Linked DNA regions of Homo sapiens: all the other regions are linked to region 3. Evidence: promoter capture Hi-C in 16 types of primary human blood cells and fetal thymus (Javierre and others, 2016). All regions are on one chromosome and are shown on one strand. The core of a region is centred on a gene start or on the middle of the fragment in contact, and the rest is flanking DNA. Distances in the headings are between cores, read along the strand shown. Region 1 overlaps RASSF4 (Ras association domain family member 4). Region 2 overlaps TMEM72 (transmembrane protein 72). Region 3 holds the start of ZNF32 (zinc finger protein 32). Region 4 overlaps TMEM72 (transmembrane protein 72). Region 5 overlaps TMEM72-AS1 (TMEM72 antisense RNA 1). Region 6 overlaps TMEM72-AS1 (TMEM72 antisense RNA 1). Region 7 overlaps TMEM72-AS1 (TMEM72 antisense RNA 1).

What was found. The method cuts DNA at HindIII sites, captures the fragments that hold promoters and counts their contacts. A CHiCAGO score of 5 or more calls a contact.
Region 1: a fragment that was not itself captured here is called in contact with the fragment with the promoter of ZNF32 in region 3 in 1 of 17 cell types (naive B cells); the score reaches 5.9 in naive B cells.
Region 2: a fragment that was not itself captured here is called in contact with the fragment with the promoter of ZNF32 in region 3 in 1 of 17 cell types (total B cells); the score reaches 6.6 in total B cells.
Region 4: a contact is called between a fragment that was not itself captured here and the fragment with the promoter of ZNF32 in region 3, in 6 of 17 cell types (fetal thymus, M1 macrophages, M2 macrophages and 3 more). The highest score is 7.7, in fetal thymus.
Region 5: a contact is called between a fragment that was not itself captured here and the fragment with the promoter of ZNF32 in region 3, in 12 of 17 cell types (total B cells, endothelial precursors, neutrophils and 9 more). The highest score is 11.7, in total B cells.
Region 6: a contact is called between a fragment that was not itself captured here and the fragment with the promoter of ZNF32 in region 3, in 1 of 17 cell types (M2 macrophages). The highest score is 5.7, in M2 macrophages.
Region 7: a fragment that was not itself captured here is called in contact with the fragment with the promoter of ZNF32 in region 3 in 5 of 17 cell types (naive B cells, total CD4 T cells, total B cells and 2 more); the score reaches 7.1 in naive B cells.

The regions. Positions count from the first base shown.
Region 1 is chr10:44,987,076-44,990,284 of GRCh38, reverse strand. RASSF4 (Ras association domain family member 4) reads right to left here. Exons shown (of 11, transcript NM_032023.4): 7 at 910-1,011; 8 at 564-615. Among named protein-coding and RNA genes, the nearest start is that of DEPP1, 9.9 kb to the right of the region's middle. The HindIII fragment of the contact is 6,881 bases long and covers 1-3,209 here.
Region 2 is chr10:44,929,746-44,932,702 of GRCh38, reverse strand. TMEM72 (transmembrane protein 72) reads right to left here. Exons shown (of 5, transcript NM_001123376.3): 3 at 634-705. All of the region lies in intron 1 of TMEM72-AS1 (TMEM72 antisense RNA 1), which reads left to right. Among named protein-coding and RNA genes, the nearest start is that of TMEM72, 20 kb to the right of the region's middle. RefSeq lists an enhancer at 1-343. The HindIII fragment of the contact is 2,956 bases long and covers 1-2,918 here.
Region 3 is chr10:43,647,071-43,650,184 of GRCh38, reverse strand. It overlaps ZNF32 (zinc finger protein 32), which reads left to right and starts at 1,304. Exons shown (of 3, transcript NM_006973.3): 1 at 1,304-1,383. The region is part of intron 1 of ZNF32-AS3 (ZNF32 antisense RNA 3); the gene reads right to left. It overlaps ZNF32-AS2 (ZNF32 antisense RNA 2), which reads right to left. Exons shown (of 3, transcript NR_047558.1): 2 at 2,976-3,073; 3 at 2,166-2,616. RefSeq lists a silencer at 1,279-1,798. The HindIII fragment of the contact is 4,172 bases long and covers 1-2,139 here.
Region 4 is chr10:44,912,075-44,915,203 of GRCh38, reverse strand. All of the region lies in intron 1 of TMEM72 (transmembrane protein 72), which reads right to left. The region is part of intron 2 of TMEM72-AS1 (TMEM72 antisense RNA 1); the gene reads left to right. Among named protein-coding and RNA genes, the nearest start is that of TMEM72, 2.3 kb to the right of the region's middle. The HindIII fragment of the contact is 2,829 bases long and covers 1-2,717 here.
Region 5 is chr10:44,867,612-44,870,974 of GRCh38, reverse strand. The region is part of intron 2 of TMEM72-AS1 (TMEM72 antisense RNA 1); the gene reads left to right. Among named protein-coding and RNA genes, the nearest start is that of TMEM72, 42 kb to the left of the region's middle. The HindIII fragment of the contact is 1,038 bases long and covers 1,386-2,423 here.
Region 6 is chr10:44,888,781-44,891,754 of GRCh38, reverse strand. The region is part of intron 2 of TMEM72-AS1 (TMEM72 antisense RNA 1); the gene reads left to right. Among named protein-coding and RNA genes, the nearest start is that of TMEM72, 21 kb to the left of the region's middle. The HindIII fragment of the contact is 5,924 bases long and covers 1-2,974 here.
Region 7 is chr10:44,948,359-44,951,431 of GRCh38, reverse strand. All of the region lies in intron 1 of TMEM72-AS1 (TMEM72 antisense RNA 1), which reads left to right. Among named protein-coding and RNA genes, the nearest start is that of TMEM72-AS1, 9.8 kb to the left of the region's middle. The HindIII fragment of the contact is 2,624 bases long and covers 431-3,054 here.

The DNA of each region.
Region 1 (3,209 bases), core at 153-2,652, 1.3 Mb before region 3:
CCAGCCAGTGAACCTAAATGGGTAGAAAGAGAAGATAATTTTCCTCCCCTACAGTGTCATTCAGCAAAGGTGCAGCTTGAAGAGAAACAAGATCTGAGGGGTGGGAGAAAGGAAAGCTGAGACGGGAGGGCCAGGGCCTGATGCACTGCGACACGCACCCCACCCTTCCTGACTCGGCGCCAAGGAGCTAGGTACCCACCCATCCATTTCTCTGGAAGAGGCGGAGAGGGAGGCTTCCTATAGCTTGGTGGGATTCTCCTTCAGAATCCTGAAAGAATTAAACTTAATGTACTGAGCGACCTAGAAAATCCAAGGACATTTTAATGTGCTTTAAATTCGAAGCCAAAAGTATGTTTTCTTTTCCTCAAGGCTTCCATAGTGTGCCTGGGTTTGGGTGGGGGAGAAATGTTCATGCTGGGAGGCACAGTGTGCCCTAGCCCACTAGGCAAGCCAGCACGGAGCCCATCTGGAAGGGAGTACAGTCAGTGGTTGGTGGGGAGGGGGCTTGCTGAACAGGTAGAGACCTTTTGCTTTTACGATCCAGAAGTGGGGCAGGTACTTACCCCCAGACTCGTGAACGATGTAGAGTGCGAACTCACTGGGGCCATCTTCCACCTGCACAGGCAGTCACAGGAAGTCAGATCACGGTGCTTGGAGATGGGAGAGAACTGAGAGGGTCCCCTGACAGTAACTACACCCCCAGTAACACACACGCAAGTTGCAAGGAACCTGTCCTCTCCCAACCTCCTCTTGCTTGAAATCCGAGAAACCAAAGCTCAGCAGAGGGACCCTTGCTAGACCTTCTGCCCAGGCAGCTTCTGCCACGGGCAGCTTTCCCCAGAACCCCACCCCCAACAGAATAGCAGACCACTGGCATCCTGGGGCAAGGCTGCTCCTGACCAGGCTTACCCTAAATTTGTTCAGCAGCAGGGTGAGCACCTGCAGGGTTGTCATGGTGCTGTTGACCCTCACATTGGTCACGGATCCATAGGCTGGAGTAAACACGGAGGTCTGTACCAGGAAGGGAGAGAAGTTCAGGTCAGGCCCAGAGGGGACAAGGGACTGACATCACAACGGTGAACAGACCAAGGCAGCAGGTGACGCTGAGATCTGGGAACACCTGCACCTGTCCATTCACGCTGATGCACACATAAGCTGTTCCCAGACCTGGGAGACACTCCGGGAAGCTGTAGTAGTGCACTCCTTCCAGAGGCCTAAGGAAGATGTCTACACACCCAGAAGGGCCAGCTCTCTGGACCCGAGGAACCAGGGCCATGGAAGTCATTCACAAGGGTGGGGGAATCAGTCTCTCCATCACTCTTTCTATTGATTAAGTCACCAGTTGTCTGTTGATTCTAAGGCTGAAAGTTACCCAATCTGTCTCCTCCTCTTCATTCTCCCAGCAGTGCCTAGTAGAGGCACTGATCACACCATATCAGCTTCCCAGCTTGTTCCCTTCTGGTCTCAGTCCCTCTAATCCGTAGTCTGCACCGCTGCCTACAGGAACGGACTTCTAAAACCCTTGCACCTCCAAGTGACGTCTAGCCCAGCTGCATCCATACAGTCTCGGCTCCCTTCCCTACCCTGCTCCATACCATCTGAATCAGAGTCTGCGTCTGTAGAACACAAGGCGAAGCGATCTGTGCAGTTCAATGTGAGAAGCACTGTTTGAAAGCGCGGGTCTAAAAGTATCTGAAGGCTTCCTGGGGACTGTGCAATAACATCTGTAGTTCTTCTCATTGTCTCGCACGTATGACACTATGGTTGCCTAACAAGCACCATGTGCTCCAGTCACAGAGCTTCTTCACAATTTGGCTGGGGGGTGGGGGGACACATTATATTTTTGCAGGTATCTTGCCTTTGCCTAAGAGACACCATATATGAAATCAACCAGGACTCTGCCTGACACATAATAGGTCCGTCCTCAATAAACCCTAGCTGTGTATTGAACCCGCTAAGATTTTACATACAATCATTGATTTAATATTCATAACAACCCTTTGAGGCAGCTATAACTAGTCCCCTTTTCTTAGAAAGGAATCAGAGGCTTTAGGAGGTTAACCAGCTTGTTCAGAGTTACCCACCTAGAAAAGACAGAGCCCTGACTCAAAGGATTCCATGATTCCTGAAAACCTACATGTTACCCCCCTGGTGCTGGTGCCTCCCAGCGAATGTGACTCCTCTGCAGGTGAACCTCTCCTTGCTTTTCAAACTCAAGTTTAGATTCGCATATTCCTCCTCTGAGATCCTAGCTCTGTTTTCCCAAGGAGGTAGCTAAGGCTCAGAGAGCTCAAGGACCTATTCAGTATCCCCGCTCTGATAAGTCCAGGCACACCTGGGAGCCATTGTGAGTTCAGGTCCAGACCATCACAATGAAGCGAATATCTCAATAAAGTGAGTCACACAAATGTTTTGGTTTCCCAGGGCATATACAAGATATGTTTATACTATACTGTAGTTTCTTAAGGGTGAGACAGTACTACATCTAAAAAATATGCATGCCTTAATTAAAACTACTTTATTGCTAAAAAATCTGACACAGAGACACAAAGTGAGCACATAGTGTTGGAAAACGGCACCGATAGACTTGTTCAACACAAGGTTGCCACACACCTTCAATTTGCAGAAACCGCAGGTGCAGCAAAAAAAAAAAAAAAAGTGCACATTTTTGCAAATGGAAGGTTGCTGAACAGCAACCTTCCATTTGCAAAAATCTGCAAGGTACAGTAACAAGAAGCACAATAAAATGAAGCACGCTGTGCCAGAGTCAGACTCAACCTCGACCTGCTTCCCCCAGCTCGATTCTAGTTGAGGTGCAGAATGACTGAGTTATACAGAAAGCCAGGATTAGGATTAGGCTTTCTTGTCCAAAGAAATATGGAAGAGAGGGCCAGGTGCAGTGGCTTACGCCTGTAATCCCAGCACTTTGGTAGGCAAAGGCGGGCGGATCACGAGGTCAGGAGTTCAAGACCAGTCTGGCCAATATGGTGAAACCCTGTCTCTACAAAAAATACAAAAATTAGCCAGGCATCGTGGTGCGCACCTGTAGTCCCAGCTACTCAGGAAGCAGAAGAATCGCTTGAACCTAGGAGGTGGAGGTTGCAGTGAGCCCAGATCGTGCCACTGCACTCCAGCCTGGCTACAGAGTGAGACTCCATCTCAAATAAAAAAAGAAACATGAAACAGAGGAGTTAGGCTATTTCAAAGGG
Region 2 (2,957 bases), core at 191-2,690, 1.3 Mb before region 3:
GGCCTTGCAAGGTGCTGGGACATCTGGATCTGAAGACTGGCTCTCTCACTGACCACCCAGGGACCAGTGTCTAGGTTCTGAGAGCCGCAGTCCTCGGTCTCACCGATAACAGCTTCCACATACTGAGTGTAGGCTGGGAAGCAGCAAGGGCCTCACGAGATCCTGCAGGGTCTGCACTCCTGCCCCACGAAGGGGTGTAGAGACATACTGCCCCTGACTTGCCCCCGGGCCCTAGGAAGAGACAGAGCCAGTTCCCAAACCCAGGTCTGCTCACTCCCAGCTGGGCCTTCTGCAGGGTCCTCACCCCATGGCAGATGGCTCAGACACTGGGGCCCAGTGACTGGCTGCTCCTGGTGAGGGGGAGCTGGACTTTTCTGGGGATTCTGGGCAAGGACAGGCCCTGAATGACTGTGTCAGTTGGTTCTCTTGGTTGGGACCAGGGCAAAGAAGGCAATGGAGCCCCTTGGGCCTGTGCCCACCTCCAGGCCAGGCTGATTGTACCTCGGTGGGGGGCTCCTGTCCACAGTGGCTTCAGGAGCAGGACATCCCCTGGTTGTGGGCTCTTGGGTGGAGACATCTGTGGTGTCTGGGGCTGGGGTGGACAATGGAGGGGTCTCTCTGGAAACTACTTACTGGAAGCAGATGGCCAGCAGCTGAGCCACAAAGTAGGCCCCTTCACATATGGAGACAGCGGCTCCTGTAAACCTGCAGGTGGAGACAGGTGAGGGAGGCTGGCGCCTCTGTCTTCCTTTGCTTTCCTGAGGGCTGTCTTCTCACACGTGGCCTCCTGACATCACATCTACAGCCAATGGACTCACCTGGATTCCCCCAGACAACATTCACCACGGGCTGTCTCCAGGACATGGCGTGTTCCGGACTGGGCCATGCTGGGGAGAGGTGGGGTCTGGGGTTCAGAGATGGGTGGGGAGGGCACCGTGGCCAGCAGGTGACATGGCCTTCACCTGGCACCCTGTGTGACACTGGCAGGCACATCCTTCTACCTGCTGGTCACCAGGATGGACACCCACTGCCTGTGTTCCAGCCTTAAACCTGGACCTGTTCCTGACCCTTTCCTTCTTCCTTTTCCTATTATCCAAATAGTCACCAGGAGCTGTTGATTACATTCCTTCAATACCTTCCAAATCGCTCCTGTTCTCTGACCTCATGGGCATTGCCTGGGTTCAGGCCCTGCCCCCTGGACCCCTGCACCAGTTCCACTTCCTCACTTACCCCAGGCCTGTCTCCTGCTCCCCCACTGTGTCACTCTGGGCTGCCTGACACCTGAATCTGATCATGTTCCTCCTGATACAGGATGCCTCAAAGGCTCCTTGTGCTCCCAGTGTGGTCCATGGATCCTGCAATCAGCATCTCCTGAGGAATGTGTAGAATTCATGGCTCCCAGGCCACCCCTAGACTCACATCAGAATCCTTGGAAATGGAATATGTACTTACGGAGGGTCTCACTGCCTATCCTCCATGTTCCCTTGACAACACAAGAAGCTATCAGGTGCCACAGGGCTTTTGCACAAGTGAGCTTTTCCTGGAAGGCCTTCCCCTTCCCTCTCCAGTCTGTCTGGTGACCTCCTCTTACTTCTCCATGTGGTACCATATGACCAGAGTCACTAGTCTGTGAACCCCCAGAGGGCGTTCCCTGTCTAATTCTTCTGTACAGCCCAGGCTCACAGTGGGTCGGGCTTATTGGGCTCCATTAATGAGCATTGCAATAAATGAAGGAATGAAAGTGGATAGTGTTGTGCAGAAGGTGGCTTGGGGTCAGGGTTTCCTCAGAGCCATGGGTGTTTCTAGATTGTGTGATCACAGGTGAGAGGTGTGACCTTTCTCTGTCTTAGTTTCCTCAGCTGTAAACTGGGGTTATTATAGTGCATCAACAGTAAAACTGTTCTAAGAATTAAATGATATTTGTAAAGCACTTAGGACCATGCTTGGCACACAGTGATTATATCAATTCTAGTTATCATTTCTCTCTCCCTGTGATTAGTTAGATCATTTAGTGATCTCCACTCCTCTCAGTCTCTATGCCTCCCAGTGTGAGCCTAACTCTTACCCCTTGGTTTTAAAATGATAATAACTAACATTTATGTAATGATTGCTATGGGCCAGGCATAATTCTAAAGGCCTTACAAATATCAACTCATTTAGTCCTTGCAACAATTTTATAATAAGTACTATATTATATTATAATAAACACTATAATTACTGTCAGTTTACCGATGAGGAAACTAAGGCACAGAGAGGTTTGCCCCATCACCAATGGCCCCTTATCAGTAGCAGGGGGAAGATCAGAACCTAGCACGCAGGCTCCAGAGCTTGTGTGCCTAACAGGCACATCAAGACGTGTTTTGCAAAATAATTGCCACTGCCTTTTTCTATGCCCTGGGACAGAGGGGTATATCAAGGCTTGGGGAATAAAGCGACTCATTCAGACTTCCTGTCTGGTGCTATTGAGTGGCAGGGAGGGACAGACAGGGCAGGTACTGAGTGCTGATCCTGCAGGTGTTAGAGAACAGGGCACAGCAAGGGGCAGGGGACCCCAGGCTGGACTGGACCACCCAGAGACCACATGGGCATAGGGTCCCCTCAAAACAGAGACAAAACAGGGTTCTGGGCAGAAGGCAGCCTGCATTCACCTGCCATGGCCTGACCCGAGAGTTAGGGACCCACTGGAGAGGAGGAAGGCCCGCCTGCTTCTGGATCCCAGGGCAATGGTGCACAGCGGCTAGGGACATGGTCAGTTAGACACGGAGGGTGTTCAGAACCAGGAGAAGTCACTGCCAGCCAGCAGGGGCTCCAGGCTCAGGGCACAATTGCCAGGGCAGAATGCCAGGAAGGAGTGTCAGGCATTGGGCAGGTGGAAATGGGTGGACGGTGCTTGGGCACCCAACAGAATGAGTGAAGCTTGGAGGCGAGGCCATGCTGGTGAGTTTGAAAAAGAGTCA
Region 3 (3,114 bases), core at 55-2,554:
CCCTTTCTCAGACTTGGGAGGAGTGAGGAGAGGAGCCACCTGGGGCAGTTCAGGAATGGGGAGCTTCAGGACAGTTTGCACCACACACTCTGGGACTTAGCTGTGCAACACCCCGACCCCCATGTGAGGAAGGTGGTGTTTGTTTGCTCCACCAGACTGTCAGCTCCTCCCTAGGAGCACGGAGTGTGTCTTGCTCACATTCGTATCCCCAGTGTCAGCACTTAAAATGGATTCAACGGATAAATGTTGAATGAAATTCAGAAATGATGTGCAATAGTAAAAGCTAACATTTAGGAATCAACTTATTACTTACAGACACCTTTGCATATTGAGTGAAATTAAGTTGTTTGATTTAACAAATCTGTGGCTTTGGGGTAGAGAACAAGAACATAGCAAGAGGAAGCATTCTTTATTAGTCCTTCACGAAAGAGGATGGACAGACACATCTACGGAGAGGGGCTCCAGAGGCAGGGACCCAGAGATACACCCGGCCAGGCAGAACAGCTCCAGGATGTGGCCCCGATCCTGGAAAAGTGCGTTTAAAAGAGGCTTAAGGCATATCAGACAGCCTGGCCAACATGGTAAAACCTTCATCTCTACTAAAAATACAAAAAAATTAGCCAGGCATGGTGGCACAGACCTGTAGTCCCAGCTACTTGGGAGGCTGGGGCAGGAGAATCACTTGAGCCCAGAAGGCGGAGGTTGCAGTGAGGCGACACCGTGCCACTGCACTCAAGCCTGGGAGACAGAGTGAAGGAAAAAAAAAAACAGGCATTATTAGAGAGGCTTTATCTCCTACGTGTTCAAAAGCAACCATGCTCCTCCCAGTATCTCAGGACGACTGGACTGCCTGTGTTCCTGTTGCTCTTCACAGAAGCTCCATGAAAGCGGGCTTCGCTTTTGTTCATGCAGCCAGAGGCTCAACACATGACCTCGAAGCCGCCAAGGCTTTATCAAACGGATTTCTCCCAAAAACTTCGTTTCCTTCCGCGACGCCCTGCAAGAACCCTGTATTCCTGAGTCCCTGGCTCAGCGTCTGCTACCCCGATGCTGTCAATCAGATCCTGCTAATCTGAGCGGCCGTGGCTCCGTCCCGGCTCCGCGTCCGCTGACAGGTCACCGCTGTGAGTCTCCGGATTACCAGTCCAAACGGGACGGCTTGAGGTCCCCGCGCCCTAGGGACCTGCGGGGCCCGAGCGCAGGGCGCGCCAGAGAACTACATTTCCCACAGAGCTCTTGGGAAGCCGGGGCCGCCGAGACCCACGGCCCGGCGGGCGGGCTCGCGGGGAGACTCCTGGGAGTTGTAGTCCATTCCGCCGGCGCCGGCGCTGGCGCTGCTGCGGGCTCGGCGCCGGCCTTTGTCTGCGGGCACGCGCCGCTGCGGTGAGTGAGGCCGCTGGCCGGGTCAGAGCGCCGGGGCAAGGCGGGGCTGCGCCATCAGACCGCTGTCCCGGGCCCTCCGTGTGGCCGCCTTATGCCAGCGGCCGCCAAGGAAATGAGCAGGCCTGGCCGGCCCGGGCCCCGAGGGAGGCCAGCCGCGAGCGGAGAGGTCGGCGGTCCGCAGAGCAGGGTCCCGTGGACCGGAGAGCGGGATGCCGAGGTTCAGGACGCAGGGCGGGCCCGGTGCCCGGGGCCCGGGGCCTGAGGCGGGAGGGCAGCGTCTGCGGAGAGGAGCAGGGCCCATGGCGTCGGGGCGTGGGAGGGGGAGGCCGCGGCAGGCTCACCCGGCCTCCGTGCGGGCTTCAGCGAGTGCGGGAAGCCGGTGCCGGCCTTCCGGGGTGGGAGGAGAGGCAGCCCCTGCGGGGGAGAGTAGGAAGCCAGGCAGCGTGTGGGAAACCACGCTACCCACAAGCTCCTAAACCTGAAACTGGCCCCAGGACATTTTCCAGACCGCCAAGTGTACCCCTCTTCTCATCCGCCCTCCAGAGGACGCCGGATTTTAGATCTTAAGTCTGGTGGTCTCGTCTGATACTCCTCTTGTTTGGTTCTTTCCTTCTCATTGTCCTACCTGATAGGACAGTGTTAGTAACCTGTTTAATAAGTGGGGAAGCAGAGTCAGGGCTGCTGGGTTACTCGCCCAAGATCATATCCTGGGGGAGCCACGGCAAGAAGCCAAGACTCACGGACTACTTCTAAGCTTTTTCCAAAGGATATAGTAGCCTTTCTAATAGGAAAATCAATGTTTTTAATTATAAAGCCACTTTTACAAAATCTTGGGGAAACTGCTTCCTCAGACCTGTGATCTAGGGAGAAAAATATGACAATTTCTCCCTTACTAATCACGGAGGTCCCTGATAGGCGGCGGAGTTGTAACTTGAAGACCTCACAGCAGGTGGAGAGGCAGAGCTGTGAATTCTACTCTAATTTCTGGAATCCCCGGCGACAGAGTCCAACCCCAGGCAGCAGGCGCCATGTACCCCAGGGACTTTTAATGTGTGTGCAGCTGTTGAGCAAGAATACCTTGAACTTCCAAATGATGTGCTGGCATGCTGGTAGGGAATTCCTTTGCAGCTTGTGTTCCAAGTTGGAAGTGAGTCCTCCAAATAAAAATTTAAATGATTCTCCTGGTCATCACAGCATGTAGCAGAATGTGCAGTTGTCAAGAAGAACCAGGTGCTTAGGTTGACAAAACAAAGAATGGTAGCATCATACTATTATTTCATTAAATCAGAAGGCCAGCATTTTGATAGGACAAATTAGAGGGAAACAAGGAGTATGCATTGAACCACTGCATTTCTTAAAAGTATAAGAATTCAGTAATTAGGATCCTGAAGTAAGAAGAAATATTTTTTTTAAAAAATAGATCATGTGGGCCAGGTGTAGTAGCTCATGCCTACATGTCTTGGGAGGCCGAGGCAGGAGGGTCACTTCAGGCCAAGAGTTGGAGACCAGCCTGGGCAGGATAATGAGACCCGATCTCTACAAAAAAAAGTTAAAATAATTTTTAAAAATTAGCCAGGCTTGGTGGTGCTTACCTGTAGTCCTAGTTATTTGGGAGGCTGAAGTGGGAGGATCCGTTGAGTCCAGGAGTTCAAAGTCACAGCAAGCTGTAATTGAGTCACTGTACTCCAGCCTGGGCAACAGAGCAAAATCTTGACTCAGAATTTTAAAAAA
Region 4 (3,129 bases), core at 54-2,553, 1.3 Mb before region 3:
GGGGCCTCAAGCTGGAGCCTCTTTGCTCTGAGGGAAATTGGGAGGCCTTGCTCAAGTGCCCAGAGACATTTTCTGAGCAAGCCTCTTATGGGGAAGCCCATGCACATCTGTGTGTGAGGACACAGCCTGAGGGGAGGGCTTTCACTACAAGGCGGGGCTCAGGGACATGTCTCCCCTTCCCTCCATGCCCAGCCTGGACGGCCTGAGAGGTGCCTCCTCTGTCCCACAAAGGGGGCTCTTCCCATGCTCTTCCTGGCCACCTCAGCAGGGGCTGGGGAGTGGCAAAGGAGTTATTCAAGATTCCCCTGAGGTTAAAGGGTAAGAGGATGGCTGAAGTTCAAAGGGAAGCCAACCCTGCTTTCCTAGCCTGCAACTGGGACCAATGCTGTGGGACAGGTCCTTTCTCATCTCACAGGGGAGGAGTGCCCTGGACCGCTGTGCTCCAGGCTCAGTTAAATCCATTTCCCAGGACCCCTTTCCTGCCATTTGGTCTGTGCTGAGAACCTGTCACAGGGCTGAGCCTCCTCTGGGGCCTGAGTCTCACACTCAGGACATCTTTACCCTGTCTCTAGTGGACACGGGGAGAACCTGCTTTGAGGGATGGACAGGCAGGAGCTCCGGCATCCGCACAGGGGAATGTGGAGTGCTCACAGCCTGTGTGCCATTTCCCAGCTGTGTCTGCTTCCATGGGCGGCAATGGATGCCGCGTCTCAGCAACTGAGGCACTTAGACATCACACGGGCGCATGCATGCACATGGACCCATGGGCGCCTGCCCCCCAACCCCACATCCTGAGCCAGGGAGGTGAAGCAAATGAACCCGGTGTAAACAATGCGGGAGTGGTCTGTTATGTCCTGGAAACCACATGACTGCTCCAGAGGGAGGGAATTTTCTAATTTTAGAAACACTTCCACCCAGGTGCAACTACCTGAGGCCTGTTTATCCCAATTTGGTGGTGGCAATGATCCGTCTGTGCTCTACAACCCCTCATGATATGGGGCTGGACACTGAGGTGGGGCAAGAATGGTCTGCGGGACTTCGAGGAATCCTAAGGAGGCTTCATCCAAAGGCTGTGGCTTCATCCACAGTCATAGGGCCTTGACATGCTGGCAGAGGCACCCACCAGGTGCCGTCAGTGCTTTTGACAGCCCTGATCCTGTCTGCAGGGGGTCCAGGGAAGAGGCTGCTAATGAGAGGCTGTAGCCTCTTAGCAGCTGCCTGGTCCCTGCAGGTGACACTCTGAGTGCCCTTGGGTCACATGTCTTCCTAGCTTTTAAGAAATCCACACTCCCCACCTCCCTAGGGTTTCTGCAAAGTGAGGCCCTCTATTTCCGGTCTTATTTCCTCTCTAGCAGCAGTGCCCTTGTAAATGAAGCCTGGATTTCTCAACAGAAGATTTCAACAAAAGAGAGGCTTAGGAGAATAAGGAATTTGCAAATCCTATGTACTGGAAATAGGCCAGGAGTTCAGTGATGCTGGAAGAAACTCGAGATTTGCCCAAGAACACCAAACCCCTCTCTCTAGCCTCCCACTCCCTCCCAGCACTCTAGAAAGCCCGAGCAAGATCATTTGAAAGCCTGGCCATTAGAAGGGAGCTCATGGCTATTTTTAGTCTGAATCTCCTATCAAAACCAAGAGGGAGGCCCATTCTCAGCATTAACAGCAGTCCCTGTGCGGAGATAAAGGCTGTGGTTAAGACGAGCCCTATGTGCGCGCGCACGGGTTTGTGTGTGTGTGTGTGTGTGTGTGTGCGTGCACATGGGAGTGTCAGGGGCTGCAGACTCTTCCGGTGACTGAGATAAATCAGACTGTTAAACTGTCTCTAGCTAATCCATTAGAAGGATAGGTACATACATCTTAGAACAGCCTCTCGACGGGAGGTGGGCCTCAGCTCTGGGTGGAGTGTGGCTGGGGGAACTGTGGGATTCTTGGCATTTTACAGATTTGGAAACCAAAGCCTAGAGGGAGCAGGGTGGACTCAGATCAACAGACATGGAAACCTATTTAGGGTGGCCTTCCTCTCCCCAGGATGGCTTTTTTGCTTGTTGGGGGTCTTGGCCATCATTCTCTTATGTGTAGACGACAACGTGGTTCTGAAAGTGGCTGGATCTGGCTCCTCCCTCAGTGCCTCCACTCAGAGCCTCAGCAGAGCAATTCTGAACCTCTTCCTGCTGCCTACTCTGGAAGACAGGGAAGGTTTTGGCCAGAGCCCTGGCCTTTGTGAAAGTTGAAGGACCAGGGCTCCGGGCTGGCTGTCCCTCTGACCATGACCTTGGGCAAGGTCACCACCTGCATTTGAGCTCAGGTGCCCCATCCTGTAGCAGGAGGGGTGGGGTTAAACCATCCAGCAGCCCTTCATGATCTAACTCATGGCCTAGATGCTGGAAGAGCCCACTGGCCAGCTCACGGCTGAACCCAGCCCAGTGCTCCTGAAATGACCCAGCTTCCCATTGAGCTCTGGAGTGTGTCATGGGGGCTTCTGCTGAGAGGTTTTCATCCTCAGTTCCACTTAGCCATGCTCAGTTCCTGCATCCTTAATCTGTCCAAACACCTGGCCAGCAGGTCCCCATCATACAGATCAGAAAGTGCAGCCTCAGAGGGGTCAGGGGCTCCCCAAGGTCATATATCACGCAAGTGACTAGGCTGGGGCAGGAACAAGCACTATGTGATTTTGACCTAGGAGAACTTTCCCATTTGGTAAGACCCGTGGGTAAGCTTTTGCCCAGTGGTGGGGAAGGGCTTTGATAGGGGGTGTGTCTCTCTTTGTCCCCAAGGGACAATGTGGCTCAGAGTTAAGGGCTCAGAATTCTGCCTGTTCATTTCCCCAAAACAGATCCTGGCTCTGTAGGGGGAATGGGGCTAAGGGTCAGGCCTGCCCTGGGGAAGCGAGCAGGCAGGGCTCAGGATGGTGGCTCTGGGCTCTGCTCTAACAGTCTGCCCTCCTGTCCAGTTGAGCAGCCCTGTGATTCTGCTGGGTGAAGGAAGGAGCCCAGCATCTCTGGGAAGCATCTCTGCTGCTAAGACCACAGTGCATTCCTGCAGTCAGACCTCAGACAGGGGTCTGGGTTCCTACAGGGTGTTCTGTTAACAGGGTCCAGCATGGGCCCGAGGGAAGCCTGTGATCTCCAC
Region 5 (3,363 bases), core at 655-3,154, 1.2 Mb before region 3:
TATATTATAATTAAGTAGGATGCCACCTAGGAATACAAGAGTGACTCATCATTGGAAAAATTGTCATAAAATCTTTTGTTAAAAATATTGCCATATTAAAAGACTACTGAAGAAAAATTACATGGCAATTAAAATTAATACAGAAATAGTACTTTATGAAATTCAACAACTTTTATGATTAAAAAAGCATAGAAAACTAGGAACAGGAGGAAATTTCCCTAACTTGGCAAAAGTTATATTCAAAAAAACCTACCACAAACCTAATATTTAATGGAGAAACATAAGACCCATTTCCTTTGAAATTACAAACAAAATAAGGATGTCCAATGCTATGGTCTGAATGTCTGAGGCCTCCCCAAATTCATATATTGAAAATTTCAAGATAATGGTATTAAAAGGTGCGGCCTTTGGAAGATGATTAGGTCATGGGGGCAGAATCCTCAGGAATGGGGTTAGGGCCTGAGACCCCCTCATCCCTTCTACTGTATGAGGACACAGTGAGACTGTGTGCAGAAAGCATGCCCTCACTAGACACCAAATATTTTAGTGTCTTGATGTTGGAATTCCCAGCCTCCAGAACTGTGAACAATAAATTTCTGTTGTTTATAAGCCACCCAATTTAGGGTATTTTTTATAGCAGCCCAAATGGACTAAGACATCCATTCTAACTGTTTCCGTTTGGCACAGTGTTTGAGGTTCTGGCCAATGTTGTAAAAAGAGGAAAAAAAAAAAGCTGGAAGAGTTGGTGTGTGAGAGAGATTCTAGCTGCTCTATTGAGGGCCAGTGACGGGCAGGGGTGAAGGCGGCGGGGATCGGACCAGACACTAAATCACTCCGGCTTGAGCTGGGTCTGTAGCTATATAGGTGGTGAGAAGTGGTTGGATTTTGGGTAAATTTTGAAGATGTGCTTGACAAATTTGTCAAAGGATTTGAAAGTGGGGAACGAGAAAAAGAGAGGGGCCAAGGGTAATTCTGTGTTTTTTTGGTTTTGTTGTGTGTGTGCTATTTTTAACTCGAGCAGTGGGAATTACTAAGATGGGGAGACAGTGGGAAGCATAGTTTGTGGGAATTTTGAAAATGCCAAGTTTGAGATCTCTACTAGATATTTAAGCAACGATGCCAAGAGGTAGAGAGGACTCTAGGGTTCAGGGAGGAGGTCTGAGCTACAGGGAGACATTTGAGGGTGGTCAGTGTAGAGATGAGATTCAGAGCTATGAAATCCAGTGAGCTCACCAAAGGAGGCGAGTTAGAGAAAAGAAGACTGAGTTTTAGGGCGCTGCCAGTTGAGAGGTTGGGGCAATGTTGGGGGAAGGAGAAAGACCATCCAGGAAAGTATGAGGAAAACTACAGGCACACGGTGTCCCAAAGGACAGGTGGAGAAAGCTTCTGTAGAGAAAACGCTCAGTGATATTTTCTGAGAGTCTGAACACGTGACAAAAGGGAGTGAATCCTTTTCTCCTTCCCTTCCTCCCTTTCTACCTCCTTCCTTCCTTCCACAAGGGTGTAAATTCCTCTGTCCCTCCCTTTCCTTCCTCCCTGCCTCTCCGTCTCCCCTCCCTCCCTCCCTTCCTCCCTCCCTCCCTCCCTCCCTTCCTTCCTTCCTTCTTTCCCTCCTTCCTTCCTGTCTTCCTTCTTTATGAATGTTTACAGCTTTGTTTAGGTATAAACAACACAGAATAAATTGCACATGTTTAAAGTGCACGATCTAAGTTCCGACATATGTCTACATCTATGAAATCACCACCACAATCACTATAGTGGCCCTATCCGTCACCCCACACATTGCCTCCTGTCCCTTCTAGTCCTCCATTCTGCCCTCCCCATTGCGTCTCTGCACATGGGGAGCCTCTCCACAAAATATCTGCTTTCCATCAGTATAGCTTAGTCTGCTCGAATTTTATATAAATAGCATCTAACAAAAACCCTTTTTTTTGTCTGGCTGCTTTCAGTCAGCATAATGATTATGACTTTTTTCCATGTTGCTTGTATCGATGGTTCATTCCTCTTTACTGCTGAGTAGCATTCCACTGAATGAATCACCACATTAGCTTATCACAAATAGTTCCTCCTATATATGCTTATAGAAGATTCATTGTTTTGTTTTGAGTGAATTTTGGTAGGTGCTGCAAAATATGAATTTAATTCATTTTGATTCATATGGATATCAAATTGTTTCCATTTGATAGACTGGAATAGACTATCTTTCCCACGTTGGATTACCTTTGCACCTTTGTCAAATCTCAGTTGCTCTTATGTGTCTGGGCCATGTGTAGCTTTTCTTATTTAGGGACATTTGTCTTTCAGAATAACTTTGTCAGTTTCTACAAACCCCCCTACTCCCTGCTTTGGGGGCTTATATGGGGACTGATCATTTCTTTTTACTGCTGAGTGGCATTTCATTGAATGAATCGCCTCAGTAAGCTTCTCACAAATAGTTCTCTCTATATTTTCTTCTAGAAGTTTCATTTTTTTTTTTTTTTTGCATTTTGGGGGCAAAGTGACATATTAGTGGTATTAGATATTCAAGTGGAGATGCCAGGAGGTAGAGAGGAATCTAGGGTACAGGGAGGGGGTCTTTTGATCTTTATATCAATTTGAGGGCAAATTGACATCTTAGTGGTATTATATTTTCTGATCCATGAATGCAACGTATCTTCCATTTTTTGAGCTCTTTAAAATTTTTTTCTGAGCAATGTTTTATGGTTTTTAGTGTACAGTTCATTCATATCATTTGTTAAATGTATCTCTAAGTATTTCATATTTTTGATGCTATTTTAAATGATACTAGATTTAAATTTTAATTTCTGATTGTCATTGCTAGTGAAAATATAAAACAATTGGTTTTTGTATATTGATCCTCTATCCTGCAACCTTATTAAACTCACTTGTTAATTCTAATATCTTTTTGTGTAGGCCACGTTGAATTTTCAATATAGAAAATCCTGTTATCTATGAATAAAGACAGTTTTACTTCTCCCTTCTAATCTCAATGCCTTTTATTTCTTTCTCTTGCTGTATTGTATTTGCTAGAAAATGTTGAAAAATGTTGAAAAGAAGTTGTAAGAGTACATAGTTTTGTCTTGTTCTTCATCTTAGGGGAAAAGCATTAAGTCTTTTAGTATTAATGGTAATGTGGACAGAAGGTTTTGTAGAGGCCGTGTACCAGGTTGAGGAAGCTCCTTCTACTCCTAGTTTGTTGAGAGAGTTTATGTCCAGAATGCATGTTAGATTTTTGAAAATGCTTTTACTATGTCTATTGTGACACTTCTGTGGTTTCTCTTTTTTAATTTCAAAATATGCTGAATCACATTAATTGATTTTCAAATTATAAATCAACCTTGCATTTCTGGCATGTAACTCATT
Region 6 (2,974 bases), core at 281-2,780, 1.2 Mb before region 3:
GCAGGTCCCATCTGTGATGTCCCACAGTCCTGTTGCATGGGTAGGGCTGGTGACGTTGCTGGTCCCATTTTATAGATGACTAAACAAGTCACAGGGACATACCTGTGTGTTCTCATTCACATTCCTGTTCATTGTCTGCCTCCCTACACTGGGGTGTGCATTCTGTCAGGGCAGGGACCTGGTGGGGCCGCTCACCCCAGTGTTCTCAGGGCCTGGCACATATAAGATATTTGCACTGAATGAAGACGTGAATGGCACACTTTGTGTGAGGCTGGCCCCAGAGCTAGTAAGGAGCAGGCCCAGAACACTGCCTGGTCCTCCTGCTCTGGCTCTGTATTCTCCAATGCCTCAGGCTGCCTAGAGGGCGAGCAGGAACCGCATACACATGAAGGCCCTTCCTACCACAAACCAGGGAAAATGGCCTCTGAACAGCTGCACTTGGACAACAGGCCTCTGCCTTGGGGTCACCCCATTTTCTTAGCTTGAACTCCTCCCAGCCTCCCACTCCACCCTACTTAGACCTTGTCCCAGTGCTGGCAGGTGTGCCCACACAGGTGTGGCCTCTTCTCCTGTCTCCTCACCTCTGCACCGAGGCATATTCTGCTTCCCCAGTCCTGGGTCAGAGTGGGAAGCTGACCTCATCCCTCCCAGGGTGGCCAAGAGCCAGTAGCTGGCGGGGCACACTTCATAGGGAGGTAGAGCCTGACCCCAGGCTCAACCCTCACCTGTGCAGCCTTCTCCTCCCACATCCTCCTCCCAGGGGGGCCTGTGCCTGGGGTCACCATTGCATCTCCACTTCTCCCCACCCTGGCACAGTGTGCCTGTCTGGTCTGCGCTGGCCACAGATCCAGAGGCTCCTTGCTGAACCTGCAATTGCTGCCCTGGTGGACCCAGTTACACCCCTGCTTTCTGGGTGTGGTGTGGAAAAGGCCAGGAAGATTGATGAGTGGAAGAGAAGGAAGAGGGAAGGAGAGGCCTGTCTCCCACCACACCCATCCTTTTATGAAGTCAGGCTCTCAGAGTGACAGGGAGTGACAGGCTTGTAAAACTGTAAAAACTACTGGGCACAGACATGATCTGCTAGCTAAGCATGTGAGCATCTGTCCTCCAATCTCTTCTTAGCCTGCACCCTGTATTCAAGTTCATGGGCACCATCAGTTTCTTCTGCTTCAGAACAGCCTAAAGCGGCTCATCTCTTCTCAGTCCTGGTCCTTGCTTTAAGCCTTCTGAGGCTTCTAAATTGGCTGATACCATTGGCATCTGCCTGTATCTCAGGCTTAAAACCTCAGGGCCAGCATTTGCTTCTAGTTTTCCTCTAGTGCTTCCCAGTTCAACAGAAGCCCTGCCCTTTCCACCTCCCTGGCTACCACCCTATCGGCTGCTGGGGCCCCAGGGTCTGCCTATTTATCCTCTGATGCGGTGCCATCGACTGCTGGCTGACTGTCTGCCACACGACAGCCAGGGGGTGGCTCAAAAACACAGAATAACCATGTTATTCCCCAGTGTAAGATTTCAACAGCTTTCTAGTTCCCCTGCAGGTCATGTAGGCAGCCCTCATGAAGCTCTGGGACAATAGTGTGCTGGCAGGTAAGTATTTAACAAAAACTGTCCAGGGAAAAAGCCCTTACCTATAGCATTTGCCAATTTCTGTGGTATAAATACTCCTACTGTGGCTGATTTCAAGCCACCCACATGATGTCACTGAGTGCAGGGCTGGGAAGAGATGCCTAGAATCACAATGTTAGACAGCATCTCCCCTGTGTAGTGCAATAGACACTAAATGACCAAGAGCAGAGATAAGAGGAAAACGTAGTCAAATAATTAGGATGTGATGAGTTTGGGGTACTTATTACACTTTATCTAATTTATTTAATTGAAAATAACTTAATGATGGCTTTGTTTAACATCCAGCTCTAAAAATAGCTGAAAATTTAACCATCAGCTCTCACAAGCTAGCACAAGTCAACTGCAGTGCATAACTGCCTGTGACCAAGTTTGTCTCCGTTTTGACTGGGGGTATAGCGAAGGGCCATGGGTTTGGGAGTCCAGCCGAGTCAGCTTGCACATGGACTCTTCTCTGCTTTCCAGTGACCAAGTCCAGCATGGTAGGTCTTGTCCTACTCTAGTTTCTTGAGCAGAATCTCAGGTCCTCCATAAAGTGGTCCTGTCTTGCAGTTCTCAGTTTCTTTCAACTTCAGGAGTCTGTTTACTCCCATATGTGTTTGTGATATAGTTGCAGCAGCCAGAACCAGGCCCTGCCATGGCCTCTGCAGGGTACACAGGCCATGCCCTCCATGTGGCTCTGCTTTCCCTGACCACCCATCTCATTGGCACCATCATTCTCGCAGAGCTGGAAGGCAGAAGCTCTGTCCTGTAATCAGTGTGGTGGGGTGAGCTGGACAGCCTGTGGCCTGGGCTCTGTGTCTGCAGCCCTCTTGCTGTGCTGAATGCACACTGTTGGATGTCACTTGATGGTTCCCTAGAATAAATTAGTGGAGTTAGACTTCTTCCTGCAGAGGAAAATGTATTAGAAACAAAATCAAAGCCCAATCAAACAAAAGAAGCTCTGAGCTTGCACATCAGGTGTATTGTCTCCTGGGAATGCAGGAAGTTGGAAAAGTCCAGGAAGATTAATGAGTGAAAGAGAAGGAAGAGGGAAGGAGAGCCCTGTCTCCCACCACGCCCATCCTTTTATGAGGTCAGGCTCTCAGAGAACTGCTGCTTTTGCTTATGGAGTCAGAACAAGCCCTAGCGACCTTCACACCTGCCTAAGGAGCTCAAGTAGAGTCCACCCTCTGAATCGAGATCACTTCTTTTTCTCCCATGGAGGGGCTTGTGCACGCTTGGTAAAGCCATCCTCAGATTGGGATCCACAGTGAAGTGAGTGCTAGAGGCACAATCCAGAGCCTGAGAACCTGGAGGACAGGCCATCCTGGACACCAGCATGGAGTCAGCTATCCATGGAATTGAGATA
Region 7 (3,073 bases), core at 493-2,992, 1.3 Mb before region 3:
TTCTCCTTGATATTTGCAAATGATTTCTGTGCTTTCCCTCAGACATGCCGACATTCAGGGGAAGAAGAGGAAGAGTGTTCCAATGAGGCTCCGTTTATTTTTTTATTTTTTGAGACAGGGTCTCACTCTGTTTCCCAGGCTGGAGTGAGTGGCACGATCACAACTCACTGCAGCCTTGACCTCCCAGGATCAGGTGATCCTCCCACCTCAGCCTCCTAAGTAGTTAGGATCACAGGTACATGCCACCACACCTGACTAATTTTTTGTAGAAACGGGGTCTCACTTTGTTGTCCAGGCTGGTCTCAAACTCCTGGGCTCAGGCAATCCTCCCGTCTTGGCCTCCCAAAGTGCTGGATTTACAGGTGTGAGCCATGGCGCCTCACCTGGGGATCCTTTTAGTACTGAGGGAAGGAAACCTTTCCCAGAAGCTTCCCAGTCACCTTCCCTTTCTTCCCATTGGCCACGACTAGGGTGCAGGCACCTTGGGAAGGGTGGACCACTGTGACTAACCCAATGCAGGACATGGCTGGCCAAGGGGAGGAAGGTACATGAGCCAGGACAATTCAAGCTCCATCAGAAAACGGGGTCAATAGTATCCCCTGGGAGAAGCCGTGCAATGCCTGCCACAACCCTGCAGAGTCCCAGCAGCTGAGGGGGTCTATTCCAGGGGCGAGATCACGGCCTGCAATGTGTGAGCTGGGTCTCAAGAGGGAGAGAGGGAACAGGCTGGAGAGATGGAAGTCTGGGAGAGCAGCTCCTCGGGAGAGCACCATGCATGAGGAGTGAGGCTTGGGGCAGCTGGGAGAGGACCTAGAGATGGGGAGAGAGAGAAGGAGTGTGGCCAGGAGCACAGGGGGCCACTCAGGCCAGAGAAGTGGGAACTGAAAATGCTCTGGTGAAGGGGAGAGCAGCAGCTGGGCCTGAGACCAGAAAAGCCCCCATGGGCTGCTGGAGGCTCGGGGAGGTGGCAGTGAGCTCTGGGCTCAGGGCACAAGAGGCTTTTGGAGGCTGGGTGCTGGCTGGACTCTGTTTGCCAGCCTTCTCTGTAAGTCCCAGGCATTAGAGCACAGCAAGCAGGAATAACAGGAGCCCTGGGCCCTTAGAAGGAAACTGAGGAGAAGCCTGGATGTCCATGCTGTGTTCCTGAGTTTTAAGGTGACATTTTCTTGGCCACTTTTTATCTGCATGGTGTTGGGGAGACCCTGCTGAGGCTAGGGTTCTTGTTCTGGTCTTGGAGGTGGCACGGCTGGGGCCTGGAGGGAGAGCTTGGCACAGCTCCCAGGCTCTGCTGGGGCCCAGCTCCGCTCAGGAATTATCAGTCACTCAGAGAAAACTCAAAGGGCACTAGGCCTCCAGCAGTCAGCAGCAGTCACAACCAAAGTGGGGAGTGGCTCCATTTGCCTTCTCCACCTGAGCTAGTGCTCCCCTTTCTCATGCTTCCTTTATCCCCCACATTGATGAGCCACTTTTTCCTCCTCTTCATCTGCACTGCCACACCCCACCCCGAACACTTAGCATCCCAGGTGACTTAGCTGGAGGGAACCTGCTATGGACTGAATTGTATTCCCCTAAATTTATATGTAGAAGCTCTAATCCCCAGTGTGATGGCGTTAGGAGGTAGGGCCTTTGCAGGGTGATTGGATCATTTGCATGGAACCCTCTTGCATAGGATTAGTGCTTCTGTAAGCAGAGACATAAGAGAGATGACTTCTTTCCTCCACGTGAGACTATAGCAAACAGGCAGCTCTCTGTGACCCAGGAAGCCAGCCCTCCCTAGAACCTGACCATGCTGGCACCCTGATCTTGGACTTCTAGCCTCCCCTCCAGAACTTCGAGGAATAAATGTTTGTTGTTTGAGCCACCCAGTGTATGGTATTTGTTATGGCAGCCCAAACTGAGTGAAACAGAACCTTAGGGGTTACCTGGTCAAAACCCCCCTTGTTCAGATGATGAGAGGAGAGAGGCCCAGGCCATCAGGCAGGTGAGGTCTGTGGCCAGCCTCAGACTTTAGTTTCCTGATGGCATTAAGAATCTCTGCTCTGAGCCTGGAATGAATACAGGCTCTACCTGTTTTTAGCTGTGTGCAAATTACCACGCACTGTGGTTTCCCATCTATAGAATGGGGCTGTAAGGGACCTGGCCTCACAGGCTCTGGGGATTAGAGGAGATGGAGCAGGCAAAGCACTGAATCCACTGAGGTCTCAGTGCTCTCAGTGATTATCATCATTGTTGTTGATACGCCTGCTTGCCTTATATTCTTTTTACTGCACAAACGCCTTGTTACATATGGAAAATAAATCCACCTGCTTCAGACTCTGATGGACTTGGCCATGCTTCCTTTGTCCCAAGATAGACAATGATGTGCATGATAAGATTCCAGCTCTGCTTCCGAAGCTCAACTCAAATCTACCTTCCCAGACTTCCCTCTGCCTGACTTCCTCTCTCATAGCATACTGTTTGTGATTTTACTGTAGTGCCATGTCTGCCTCATGTCAGTCACACATTTGGCTTGTCTAGAGAGCACACAGCATGCCAGACTCACTCCTTCAGCCCAGCACCTTGTGTGATGCCTGGTCCACACAGTAGGTGCTTAGTAAATGTTTGCTGAGTTAAACCGACTTTTGCCCTTAGCAACCTATTCTCTAAGTTTATGCTGGTGCTGTTGGTTTAAAAGAAAGGAACATGTTTCAATGTGGAAAGAGGAACTCAAGACTTGGGGCCTGCAAATACCTCATCCAGTTTCCTGGAAGCTGGAAACTGAAGCTATAGTGGGCTGGTGGCATCCTCACCCCTGGCGGAGCGTGTGCAGCCTCAGGTAGAAGCACCTATTTAGGGACAAATGAATAATCAAAGGCATGGCCCATTTGCTTTACTCTTTATCTGCTCTTTAAAGGGAAATTTGATTTGAAACTCACAGAGTCTTCCATATCAATGAGGTGGTAAACATCTGCTTGGATGGGCTTTTGCTCCTGCCCCAGTTATTCCCAGTACAACCTTCTGTGGTTCTGATGCTCCCCATTTCCTCCAGATCCCTGTCCTGAGACTATGCAAGCTTTCCAGAAGCTCATACTGT